Regions from separate parts of the Homo sapiens genome. Here regions 2, 3 and 4 are each linked to region 1. Evidence: promoter capture Hi-C in 16 types of primary human blood cells and fetal thymus (Javierre and others, 2016). All regions are on one chromosome and are shown on one strand. Each heading gives the region's core, a stretch centred on a gene start or on the middle of the fragment in contact. The rest is flanking DNA. Distances are from core to core; before and after follow the strand shown. Region 1 holds the start of TEPSIN (TEPSIN adaptor related protein complex 4 accessory protein). Region 2 holds the start of MRPL12 (mitochondrial ribosomal protein L12). Region 3 overlaps NPLOC4 (NPL4 homolog, ubiquitin recognition factor). Region 4 holds the start of FSCN2 (fascin actin-bundling protein 2, retinal).

Region 1 (2,904 bases), core at 225-2,724:
CTGGGAAGGGATGAGAACTGTGCTACTGGCCACAGGGAGGCTGCAGCAGGGTCCTCTCTCAACAGTCAGGGATGAACAGCCTCGGAGAAGAGGCAAATCAATGGTGGTTCTCCACGGAGGAGCTGCGCCACTTGGGTTAAGAAGGGACACAGCCCCCAGCCTCCCTGCACTTACCAGCATGTAAGGCTATTTGAAGGTACCTCTCCTGTACCTACCTACTGACTAGCAAAGCCAAACAAGGCCCAGGCAAGCCCCTTTTCCACACAGGGGACTATGAATCGTTCCACCTCCCCAGAGGCCGGAATGGCAGAGTGACAGCCGCTCAGCGTGACTAGCTCCATCGCTCCCCGAGAACCGACTGATGTCGTGTGTTTTACGTTCGCTTAGCGCAGACGTACTTATTTGTTTCATGCTTACTTACTGGCACAAAGATGTACGGTTTATAGGGATGAAAACTGGAACCACCCATTCTTGCATTATTCAGTATCAGGACAGAATAGAGTTCAAGAGTATTTAACAGGACAAGCATGGGACCCACCGCGTGAGGTGCCGAAGCCTTTCGGTCGGAAGGGCCGAGATCTAGTGACAACATACGAAAACGTGGACCTGAAGTGTTTCCCGAGGCTGTGGACACGCATCACTGACACTGTTTGCCCACCACGCCCTAAGGGGAGCTGCTGAGGTTTGCAGGTGACAGCTGACAACTGCAGAACGCAGCACAGAACGACTATGTCGAAACCTTGCACTGAGAGCCTTGACCAACCCTAGCGTGGCTTCTGGCAGCCCAAGGTCGCGCCCTGGGACCACCCAGCCCCCTCTGAGGTCCAGCCCAGGAAAGCTCAGGGCTGACAAAAGAGGGCAGTTTGCTCAGGACGACACCTGGGAACTCGCCCCGGCCTCTACTTCTCAGAGGGTTTACTAAGAGGGGCTTACAATGGTGCGTCCTTCTCTGTCCCTTCGAGACGTCTGTGTTCTCTGCAACCCAGGGGTGCCTCTCCAGGACCGGAGTCCTCTGAAACGCCACCGTCAGGGAGGACGGCGGGCTGCCAGCCCACCTGGGCGCCAGCAGCACGGACACAGCGGCTCCACGTCCACCGGGTCCGCCGCTCCTTCCCTCCCGTCGGAGGCCACTGAATGCTGGCCGAGGCCTGTTCGTTCCCCCAGGGTCTGGCTGTGCCCATCGCCCTTGCGCTCGGCGGGTCCGGCTTGGAAGGCCCGGCTTGGAAGGCCCCGGGACGGCGCGGCGGGCGGGCAGCTCAGGGGCGTCGGCGCGGGCGAAGGGGCCAGGAGCAGCTACCCGGCGCGGAGACGCAAGGTCAATGGCTCCGGCCCGGGGCGAGTCCGGGGAATGCGGCGCTCGAGAGGAGCCGTGGGACCGGGGCCCGGGCGGACCGCCCTCACTCACCCGGTGTAGAAAGCTCAGGCGGTCCCGTAGCGGCGGCGCGGCAGCCATGATCCAGGTCCCCTCCCGGTCTGCCCCGCTTCCGCCAGGCCCGGGCCCTCCAATCACTGCGCGGGTCTGGGTCCGCCGGCCAATCCCTCACGGTAGGGCGGGCCCTGAGGTTGGCTTCGTAAACAATTGGAGCCTAGGCCAATCCGAAGTCCCAGAGCACAGACAGACTAGGACAAGAGCCAATTGCGGGGGCTCGAGGCCAGGCAAAGCCTGGCCAATTAAGAAGTTCAGGAAAGGTTATGGGCGGAAGCGCCGACCTATCAAGCTGTTTGACACCGGAAGAGGACGGACCTAAGATGGCGGCCTCCAGGGGGCTGGGAATAGCCGCTCATGTCGGCTAACGGAGCGGTGTGGGGCCGCGTGCGAAGCCGCCTCCGCGCCTTCCCCGAGCGGCTGGCCGCCTGCGGGGCCGAGGTGAGGAGCCGCGGGCGGGCCAGTGCTGCGGGGCAGGAGGAGCCGCGCGGGGAGGTGGCTGGGAGGGAGGACGGTGACGGGGTCAGGGGACCCCACGACCCACGCCCGTCCTTTCCGCAGGCCGCGGCGTACGGCAGGTGCGTGCAGGCCTCCACGGCCCCGGGCGGCCGCCTGAGTAAGGACTTCTGCGCGCGGGAGTTCGAGGCCCTGCGGAGCTGCTTCGCCGCTGCGGTAGGTGGGCGCGGGCCCCTTCCCCCCTTCCCAGCCCTTCCCCTCCAAGAGCCAGCGGGCCCCGGCTTTCCTTTGCTTTCCCGTTGGTTCAAGGTTTGAGCGCCTGCCGCGTGCTTTAGACGCCGGCTGACAAAATCACCGAGCCATCGACGAGCCCGCGAAACCTCGGCCGTCCTGGGCTTGTCCCTGCATGTTTGTAAAGCGGGACTGGCACCAACCTCAGAAAGGATGGGAGATGTGTGCAAAAAAGCGCCTTGTAAAACGCGTAAGCTTTCGTGTTAGCACTGCCGCCGGGGGGTGTCATGCCAGGATTGACCCAACACAGGACTCCCGGAAAGTGCCCAGCACCTTCCGGGTCTTCACCTCCCTGGCACTTGCAGCCCCTGTGCACCTGCAGTGGTGGATTCCTTCAGCACGTGTCCTGCGGGGAACCCCCAGCCACCCTCACAACTGGCACGATAGGGCTTCTTGCCCGTGGGGCTTTAAGTCATTCTGAGGCTGGTTCCCTAAGTGTCAGCCGCACCGGGTACCACCTCAGTGTATCTGGGTAGGCCTTGATGCCAGTGCTGACTCTGTTTACTGGGAGCTGTTAATCCGGAGATTTGGACCAGAGAAAGGGTATTTGAACAAGAGTTCCACGGCCTTCATCCCTACCCGGCCCCAGCAGCCTTGGATCCAGGGGTGGACAACTCATCAGAAGTTGCACTTTTTGCTGGGTGTGGTGGCGCGTGCCTGTAATCCTACCGCTTTGGGAGGCTGAGGTGGGTGGATTGCTTAGGCCTAGAAGTTTGAGACCAGCCTGGGCA
Region 2 (2,723 bases), core at 224-2,723, 460 kb after region 1:
GAGGTGGCAGGAATGGGGACCCTCACCCCCCAAGCAGCCTGTGCCCTCTGGCCGCACTGTGAGCTGGCTGTGGTGTCTGGGTGTGGCCTGGGGCTCCCTCTGCAGGGGCCTCTCTCGGCAGCCACAGCCAAGGGTGGAGGCTTCAGGTCTCCAGCTTCTCTGCTTCTCAGCTGCCATCTCCAGTGCCCCAGAATGGTACAGCGATAATAAAATGTATTTCAGAAAGCATCAGCGTTTTTTCTTTAATTAATTTTTTTGAGATGGAGTCTCACTCTGTCACCCAGGCTGGAGTGGTGATCTCCGCTCACTGCAAGCTCCGCCTCCTGGGTTCAAGCGATTCTCGGGCCTCAGCCTCCCGAGTAGCTGGACTACAGGTGCACCCCATTACCATGCCTGGCTAGTTTTTGTATTTTTAGTAGCGACGGTGTTTCACCATGTTGGCCAGGCTGGTCGTGAACGCCTAACCTCAGGTGATCCACCTGCCTCGGGCTCCTAAAGTGCTGGGATTACAGGCATGAGCCACCGCGCCCGACCTGCATCAACGTTTGCTCAGGGGGCAGGTGGTCAGGCTGATGGCCCAGCTGCAGGCAGGGTCATTTCCAGCCTGCCCCTCCCTGAGGCTGCGTGCCAGGGTTCATGTGTGCCCTCCGCGGCTCTGCACTGACCCCGCCGGTAGCTGGGGAGGAGTTTGGGCTTGGCGCCTCCTTCGTGTAGTGGCTGAAGCTTCCCGGGTGCTCCTCATTCCTGGGAAGGGAGTCGGGTGATGGGAACGGTGGGAGCTCAGCGCTCCGAGTCTGCGGCCGGGGGCCAGCGGGGCTGAAACGCGCCTCCTGAGTGTTGAAAGCGGCAGGCGCCGGCCTTTGCACCCAGAGGCCAGGGCGTCTCACTCACCTTCACATCCAGGCCTCTTAGGGGAGCGCGGCTTTGGCTTTTCCAGGAAGGAATGGACTCCAACGGACAGGGAAAGAAGAAGTGTGGAGAGACGGGCAGGATAAGCAGGCACTGGGCCCAAGCCGCCCTTGGAGGCTCTGCCTGTTCTGATCTGAAGGCGGAGGCTCAGCCGTGCTCTCCCAGGAAGCCACCTGGGCGTTTGGGGCTTTAGCTAGGAAAGAGGATGTCGCCTGCGGCTGCGAAGGCGCCAAAGCCCAGACCTCGCGCCTCCGCCCGCGACGGCGGCACTGGGGGCCCGGAGCGGGCGGGAGACGTGGATTACTGCGGGCTTCGGGGCCCTAGCCTCGACCGCGACGTTCGCTCGCATCGCGTACGGACAGAAACCCGTGAGCGCTGAAGAAAGAACACCTGAATCCGGAGCCCCAGCCCCCGTCGCTCGTTTGCGCGACCCCAAAACCTGGCGGGACGAGGGTCGCCCGATGTCTAGCTGCCGCCACAGACGACGCTTTTGCGTCTGCGCAGCGCGCCGCCTTGTGGGTAATCTCAGGGTGAGACGAGGCTAGCGCGAGGTACGGCTAGAGCGTCATTTCCGGCTCGAATGCCCGGCAGCCGTGGCGGCTAGAGCGTTCCTCCCCAGCTCGAATGCCCGGCGGCCGAGGCGGCTAGAGCGTCGCCTCCTCCCGGGGAACCGCGTGTGACCTTCCAGCCCGCGGACCGATGCTGCCGGCGGCCGCTCGCCCCCTGTGGGGGCCTTGCCTTGGGCTTCGGGCCGCTGCGTTCCGCCTTGCCAGGTACGCGGGATCCTGGGGCGGTCCGGGCCGGCAGGCGGGTTAGGGGGCAGCCGGGCACTGAGGGGTCGATCCGGGCGAGGAGGGCGGCGGGGCCGGCCTCCCTGCAGCGGCCAGGCCGGGCTTGGGGGTCCCATCGGGGGCGCGGGGAGGAGGCCTCCCGGTGCGCACGCCCCTTCCCTCCTGGGCCGTGGAAAGCGCCGGGGTCGGCCCCAGATGACCTTGGACGATTCCCTGCTCCTCCCTTGGCCTCAGCCTTTTCCGCAGCAAAGGCCCATCCGTGGGTGCGGCGTTTTGCGGCCAGGGGCCCCCATGTTTTGGGAGGCTTTGCGCAGGAAGATGCACCTAAGTAATAGTTTCGCCACCGCTGGGTTGATGTAGTTCATTCAAACCAGAAACTTGAGGTTTGAGTGGTATGGCTGCAAATAAACACGTGGCTTTCTAAGGCTCTTTGAAGAATTTAAAGTAACTTGCAAATCTTATCAATACGGACCCCTTGAGGTCTGAGAACCCTGGACTGGGACCAAGGAGCTAGGTAATTTCCGGCCCTAGTGATTACCAGCCTGAGCTTATGGCACCCACCAGTCCCCCAGTTGTCCTGCCCCTCTGGTTTCTGCAGCCCCTTCCATTCCAGGACTGACAAGTCTGTTTTAATTGGGGGTGGGGGCTAGGCGACAGGTGCCATGTGTCTGTGCCGTGCGACATATGAGGAGCAGCGGCCATCAGAGGTGTGAGGCCCTCGCTGGTGCACCCCTGGATAACGCCCCCAAGGAGTACCCCCCCAAGATACAGCAGCTGGTCCAGGACATCGCCAGCCTCACTCTCTTGGAAATCTCAGACCTCAACGAGCTCCTGAAGGTATCGTGAGAGGGTGGCACAGACCCAGGGGCTGGAAGTTTCAGGGCCCCTGTGTTTTGTTCCTGGTGTATTTTGGGAGTTTGGTAAATTGTCAAAAGTGTGTTTGTCCAGGTGCAAGGTCCATGCCAGGCTAGTTGCCCCTCCTCAGTAGGTTCCGGCTGGTGTGAGGGCCAGCTGTGGACACTG
Region 3 (2,904 bases), core at 132-2,631, 370 kb after region 1:
CAAACTTCAGGAAGTCCAACTAAAAAGATTTAGGCTGAGCATGGTGGCTTATGCTTGTAATCCCAGAATTTTGGTAGGCTGAGGCGAGTGAACTGTGTGAGCCCAGGAGTTCCAGACAAGCCTGGGTAACATGGCGAGATCTGTCTCCACACACACTATATATGTATATACACATACATACATATATATGTATATATACACACACACATATATATATACACACACATATATATACACACATATATATACACAAATACACACACACACACACACACACACACACACACACATATAAAAGTCAGACATGGTGGTGCACGCCTGTAGTCCCAGACACTTGGGAGGCTGAGGCAGGAGGATTGCTTGAGCCCAAGAGGGCTGCAATTGAGGCTGCATTGAGCCATGATGGCAGTACTGCACTCCAGCCTGAGCAACAGAGTGAGACGCTGTCTCAAAAAGAAAAAGGTTTTAAATTCTAGGGGCTACCTATAAAGGAAAGCAGGGTAAAAGGAAATGAATATACCTTGTTTGTAAACATGACTTTGGAAATGTGCACTTTTTTTTTCTTTTCTAACTTTTAAAAATATTTCTGGCTGGGCACAGTGGCTCCTACCTGTAATCTCAACACTTCAGGAGGCCAAGATGTGAGGGTCACTTGAGGCCAGTAGTTCAAGACCAACCTGGGCAATATAGCGAGACCCTGACTCTACCAAAAATTTAAAAACTAGCTTGGCATGGTGGCATGCACCTGTAGTCCCAGCTACTCAGAAGGCTGAGGCAGGAGGATCGCTTGAGCCCAGGAGGTCAAGGATGCAGTAAGCTATGACTGCACAACTGCACTCCAGTCTGGGCAACAGAGCAAGACTCATCTCTAAAAAATAAATAAATAAAAATTAAAAATTTCTAACATACAGCTAATTTAAAGAATTTTACAGTGAATACTCATATACCCACCACTAGATTCACCATGAACATTTCCTATGCACTATCTGTCCCTCTAGTCACCCATCAATTCATTTTATTTTTCTATTGGATTTCAAGTGTATTACAGACATAAATGTACTTCTCCCTAAATAGTACAGCATGCATATCATTAACTAGCATTCAATATTTGCTTACTTTTTTACTTTTGCAATAAAATGTATGTAAAATACACTACATCATTATACATAATTACAAAACAAATTGAAATTTATATAAATATACACACACAGCCCAATTCCCAAAAACCAGAAATACAATGTGTAACTAGTTGGTGGCATAATCATACCGAGAGGGCCTTCCAATGACTTCCAAGCACAGTGACTAGATGTGCACACACCCTGCGGGATATACCCTCAGGACACTTCTTTCCCCTCCAAACAAATCTTAAATTGTTATCAGTCCTATTTTGGTGGCAGTTTTTGTTACTCTGGTGACACTCTGGTGATTGGTGCTGAGGTGTGTCTGTGGCCTTCTCCATGGTTCCTAAGACAGTGACTGCTGCATGGTGGAAGAGACACAGAATGACACAAGGACTGAGCACCTGGACACTACAGAGTCAATGAGCAAACCTGGACACAGCAGACGAGATAAAAACACTGGATCAATAGTGGCAAATGTACCGGTTGTGTAAGAAAATATCCTTATCCTTAGTAACATACACTGAAGGTTTTAGGAGCCATGATCTCACTCTCCAATAACTCAGAAAATGTTGTGCACGTGCACCGGTGTGTGACAAAGGGGGAACAAACAACAAAGCGAACAGGGCAAGGCCTCTCCGAAAGGGCGTCCCCCACAGCCTCCAAACACAGAAACTCAGGAACTTGAATCCCGTCATGTTTACCTGAGGTGGCTCATAAATCGCAGCCACTTCAGCCCTGATGCCAAGGGGAATGTCTTTGTGCTCCGTGTACCGTCCGTATAAGTACCCAAAATGCTGGTTCCCTGTCTTTCTCCAGAAGTCAAGAAAGCGGTCAGCGACGGTGTGATTCTCAAACATGATATTGTCCACATGCCTGTACTTCTGTAGAGTTAACAAGAGTGGGCTGATGAAAACATGCCATCAAAAAGAAATCACTTGTTTTTCTAACACAAACCATTCATAAATATCTTTTACCTAGTTCTTTAAAAAACAAACCAATAGGGTGTGATGGTGCATGCCTGTGGTCCCAGATACTCAGGAGGCCGAGGCTAGAGGATCGCTTAAGCCCAGGAGTTCAAGTCCAGCCTGGGTGACAGAGTGAGACCCCTTGTATCTTAAAAAATAAACATCTGGGCTGGGCGCAGTGGCTCACGCCTGTAATCCCAGCACTTTGGGAGGCCAAGGCGGGCGGATCATGAGGTCAGGAGATCAAGACCATCCTGACCAACATGATGAAATCCCGTCTCTATTTTTTTTGTATTTTATAAAAATACAAAAAATTAGCCAGAGCCAGGCGTGGTGGCGGGCGCCTGTAGTCTCAGTTACTCGGGAGGCTGAGGCAGGAGAATGGCGTGAACCCGGGAGGTGGAGCTCGCAGTGAGCTGAGATGGCGCCACTGCACTCCAGCCTGGGCGACAGAGCAAAACTCCATCTCAAAAAAAAAAAATAAATAATAATAATAATAATCTGCTATTCTATTTAAAAATAAAAACAATAAACATTACTTAAGAAAAAAACCAGTCAGGCACGGTGGCTCATGCCTGTAATCCCAGCACTATGGGAGGTGAGGCAGGCGGATCTCTTGAGTCCAGGAGTTAAACCTCAAAAATTATTCAATACAGTGAAACCCTGTCTCTACTAAAAATACAAAAATTAGCCAGGCATGGTGGCTCATGCCTGTAATCCCAGCTACTCCGGAGGCTGAGGCAATAGAATCACTTGCACCTGGGAGGCTGAGGTTGCAGTGAGCCAAGACTGCACCACTGCAATTCAGCCTGGGCTAC
Region 4 (2,904 bases), core at 124-2,623, 290 kb after region 1:
AGCGTGGGGACAGTGGGGACAGGTCTCCTCTTTTTCCTCCCCTGTGTCTGCAGGTGCCTGGCACGGTTGCTGTCCAGGGCTTAGAGGACAGAGGAAGAGCCCCTGAGTCTGTGCACACTCTGCCACCATGGCCCTGCCCACCTCTGGAGCCCACAGGTGCCCAGCCCAGGCCCCTTGCTTTTGGCTAGACTCCTGCCCTACGGGGACCCCCATGATGGCCACTCAGGAGATGGGCCCAGGAGGACAGGGGAGTGACTCCAGGCCATGACCGGAAGGGGCCTGTGGCCCCTGTTCCCAGTCCCCAGGGAGACGGGAGGGTCACACGCTGTTATGAGGAAGAGGACACCGGGCTGGCCCTGGCCCAGGGTGGCCAGCTCTGGTTTCACTACTTGGCCCCAAGCCCCTGAGGCAGGTGCAGGAGCCAGGCACGGTGAGCAGGGCCCAGTGCCCCTCAGGCTCTGGGGAAGGGGTACAGCCAGGTGGCCCAGAGCAAGGAGGTGCTGTAGACAGGTGTGACCACTTCCAGTCTCTCCCGGCCTGCTGGCCTTCATCCTCTCCCAGATTCCAAGGGCCACCGCTGGGAGCATGGGGTGGACATCGTCCCACCAGCCTCCTGGATCCACATCCGTAAAGACTCCAAAGTGAAGTGAGGCTGGCTTCACTCCAGCTCACAGCAGAGGAGGGGGCAGCCTCAGGGCCCAGCAACTTGCTCAGAGCGCACAGGAGTGCGCTGGGGCCGGGCCAGCCTGGCCCAGGGCCTCTGACTCTGCCCCCTGCCTGCAGGGCTGCACGGCCACTGTGTTCCACCCTCCAGCGTGGGTGGCAGTCCAGTGCGTCATTCTGGGGCCTGAGCAGTGTGGCCAGAGGCCGGTCTGGGGTGGAGGCGACCTGGGCTGCAGGTTGTGGCTGGGGTCCTTGCTATGCTTCTGGCAGCAGGAATCAGAGAAGCAGTAACTGGATCCAGCTGAGGGCCTGGCGGCCACCGAGGGTACGGGCGGCGATCAGGTTGCGGCCGAGCCGTGAGCGTTCCACTGGACGGCTTCTACATCCGGAAGGGCTGGGCCGGGCCGGGCCGGGAGCCCACACGGGGTTGGAGGAGGGGGGCAGGAACGAGAGAGGCCAAAAGGTGCAGGGCCGTGAAGAGGGGCGCTGGGCCCACGCTATGAGGAAAAGGGGATCAACCCTGCCCTCCAGCCCCGTAGGCCCTCAGGCCCTCGGGCTCTGGGCTCTGTGCAATCCGGGAGTGGCTGAAATCCAAGCTGAGGGTAATGAAAGGTGCTGCTCCTAAGCCGCACGTCTCTGATCCGCCCTCCCCGCCCGCCCTCTGCTGCCCGCGGGCCCTCTAAGAGCTGCCCAGGCTGCTGCCGCGGGTCAGAGGCGGGTCAGAGCAGGCAGGGGGTTCGTGACGCCGGCTGGGTCTGGGGGCTGTGGGCCAGCCGAGCCGACCCGGGCTTCTGGGGGACCGCGGGGGCCGTGAGCACTCAGAGGGCGCATCCCAGGCCCCTCCGGGGACCCGGCCAGCCTGAAGATGCCGACGAACGGCCTGCACCAGGTGCTGAAGATCCAGTTTGGCCTCGTCAACGACACTGACCGCTACCTGACAGCTGAGAGCTTCGGCTTCAAGGTCAATGCCTCGGCACCCAGCCTCAAGAGGAAGCAGACCTGGGTGCTGGAACCCGACCCAGGACAAGGCACGGCTGTGCTGCTCCGCAGCAGCCACCTGGGCCGCTACCTGTCGGCAGAAGAGGACGGGCGCGTGGCCTGTGAGGCAGAGCAGCCGGGCCGTGACTGCCGCTTCCTGGTCCTGCCGCAGCCAGATGGGCGCTGGGTGCTGCGGTCCGAGCCGCACGGCCGCTTCTTCGGAGGCACCGAGGACCAGCTGTCCTGCTTCGCCACAGCCGTTTCCCCGGCCGAGCTGTGGACCGTGCACCTGGCCATCCACCCGCAGGCCCACCTGCTGAGCGTGAGCCGGCGGCGCTACGTGCACCTGTGCCCGCGGGAGGACGAGATGGCCGCAGACGGAGACAAGCCCTGGGGCGTGGACGCCCTCCTCACCCTCATCTTCCGGAGCCGACGGTACTGCCTCAAGTCCTGTGACAGCCGCTACCTGCGCAGCGACGGCCGTCTGGTCTGGGAGCCTGAGCCCCGTGCCTGCTACACGCTGGAGTTCAAGGCGGGCAAGCTGGCCTTCAAGGACTGCGACGGCCACTACCTGGCACCCGTGGGGCCCGCAGGCACCCTCAAGGCCGGCCGAAACACGCGACCTGGCAAGGATGAGCTCTTTGATCTGGAGGAGAGTCACCCACAGGTGGTGCTGGTGGCTGCCAACCACCGCTACGTCTCTGTGCGGCAAGGTAGGGAGGGCACAGGTGGCGACCTCCTGAGGGGTGCTGGGACCCCCCTGCTTCAGGGAGGAGGCCGTGGGGGTCTCACGGGGAGTGGTATCGTGTCTGTGCGTTCACATGTCTGTTCTGGGCTGGGGGTCCATGTGGGACATGTGTGGCCACTCAGGGTGTAGGTGGGTGGGCCTCGGGCCATGCCCAGGCGACCCCCACTGAGGGGTGGTGGCTTCAGGGTCAGAGGCAAGGGTTCCTGGCCTTTCTCAGCATAGCTGGAGAATGTCTCAGCCAAGCCCTGGGCAGCTGCGGAGTCTGAGACTGGAGAGGTGTGGGCCAGGCGATGGGCAGTGCCCAGCAGGGGCAGGAGGCCCACAGCCTGGCCTGGTGCCATGAGGGGCATGTGGGCAGGAGGCTGTGGGGGGTCCATATCTCCCCTTCTTTTTCTCCACCCCATTTTCTGGACTTCATTTATTTATTTATTTTTTGAGACAGAGTCTCGCTCTGTCACCCAGGCTGGAGCGCAGTGGCGTGATCTCGGCTCACTGCAAGCGCCGCCTCACGGGTT

The links. Contacts are between HindIII fragments. The CHiCAGO score rates a contact against its expected background, and 5 or more counts as called.
Region 2: a contact is called between the fragment with the promoter of MRPL12 here and the fragment with the promoter of TEPSIN in region 1, in 1 of 17 cell types (non-activated CD4 T cells). The highest score is 5.4, in non-activated CD4 T cells.
Region 3: a fragment that was not itself captured here is called in contact with the fragment with the promoter of TEPSIN in region 1 in 1 of 17 cell types (monocytes); the score reaches 5.7 in monocytes.
Region 4: the fragment with the promoter of FSCN2 here is called in contact with the fragment with the promoter of TEPSIN in region 1 in 1 of 17 cell types (endothelial precursors); the score reaches 6.4 in endothelial precursors.

Annotation. Positions count from the first base shown.
Region 1 is chr17:81,237,581-81,240,484 of GRCh38, forward strand. TEPSIN (TEPSIN adaptor related protein complex 4 accessory protein) reads right to left here and starts at 1,475. Exons shown (of 13, transcript NM_001363764.2): 1 at 1,406-1,475. The coding sequence starts at 1,453. NDUFAF8 (NADH:ubiquinone oxidoreductase complex assembly factor 8) reads left to right here and starts at 1,738. Exons shown (of 3, transcript NM_001086521.2): 1 at 1,738-1,867; 2 at 1,988-2,098. The coding sequence starts at 1,784. RefSeq lists enhancers at 799-1,381, 1,625-1,844, 2,225-2,304 and silencers at 1,165-1,254, 1,357-1,572, 1,815-1,964. The HindIII fragment of the contact is 7,335 bases long and covers 1-2,366 here.
Region 2 is chr17:81,701,894-81,704,616 of GRCh38, forward strand. MRPL12 (mitochondrial ribosomal protein L12) reads left to right here and starts at 1,474. Exons shown (of 5, transcript NM_002949.4): 1 at 1,474-1,682; 2 at 2,351-2,537. The coding sequence starts at 1,609. It overlaps HGS (hepatocyte growth factor-regulated tyrosine kinase substrate), which reads left to right. Exons shown (of 22, transcript NM_004712.5): 22 at 1-228. RefSeq lists enhancers at 354-957, 902-971, 958-1,561 and a silencer at 1,462-1,841. The HindIII fragment of the contact is 11,363 bases long and covers 722-2,723 here.
Region 3 is chr17:81,602,726-81,605,629 of GRCh38, forward strand. NPLOC4 (NPL4 homolog, ubiquitin recognition factor) reads right to left here. Exons shown (of 17, transcript NM_017921.4): 8 at 1,823-2,002. Among named protein-coding and RNA genes, the nearest start is that of NPLOC4, 33 kb to the right of the region's middle. The HindIII fragment of the contact is 5,992 bases long and covers 1-2,904 here.
Region 4 is chr17:81,527,004-81,529,907 of GRCh38, forward strand. FSCN2 (fascin actin-bundling protein 2, retinal) reads left to right here and starts at 1,374. Exons shown (of 5, transcript NM_012418.4): 1 at 1,374-2,354. The coding sequence starts at 1,529. RefSeq lists enhancers at 1,296-1,822, 1,823-2,348. The HindIII fragment of the contact is 29,205 bases long and covers 1-2,904 here.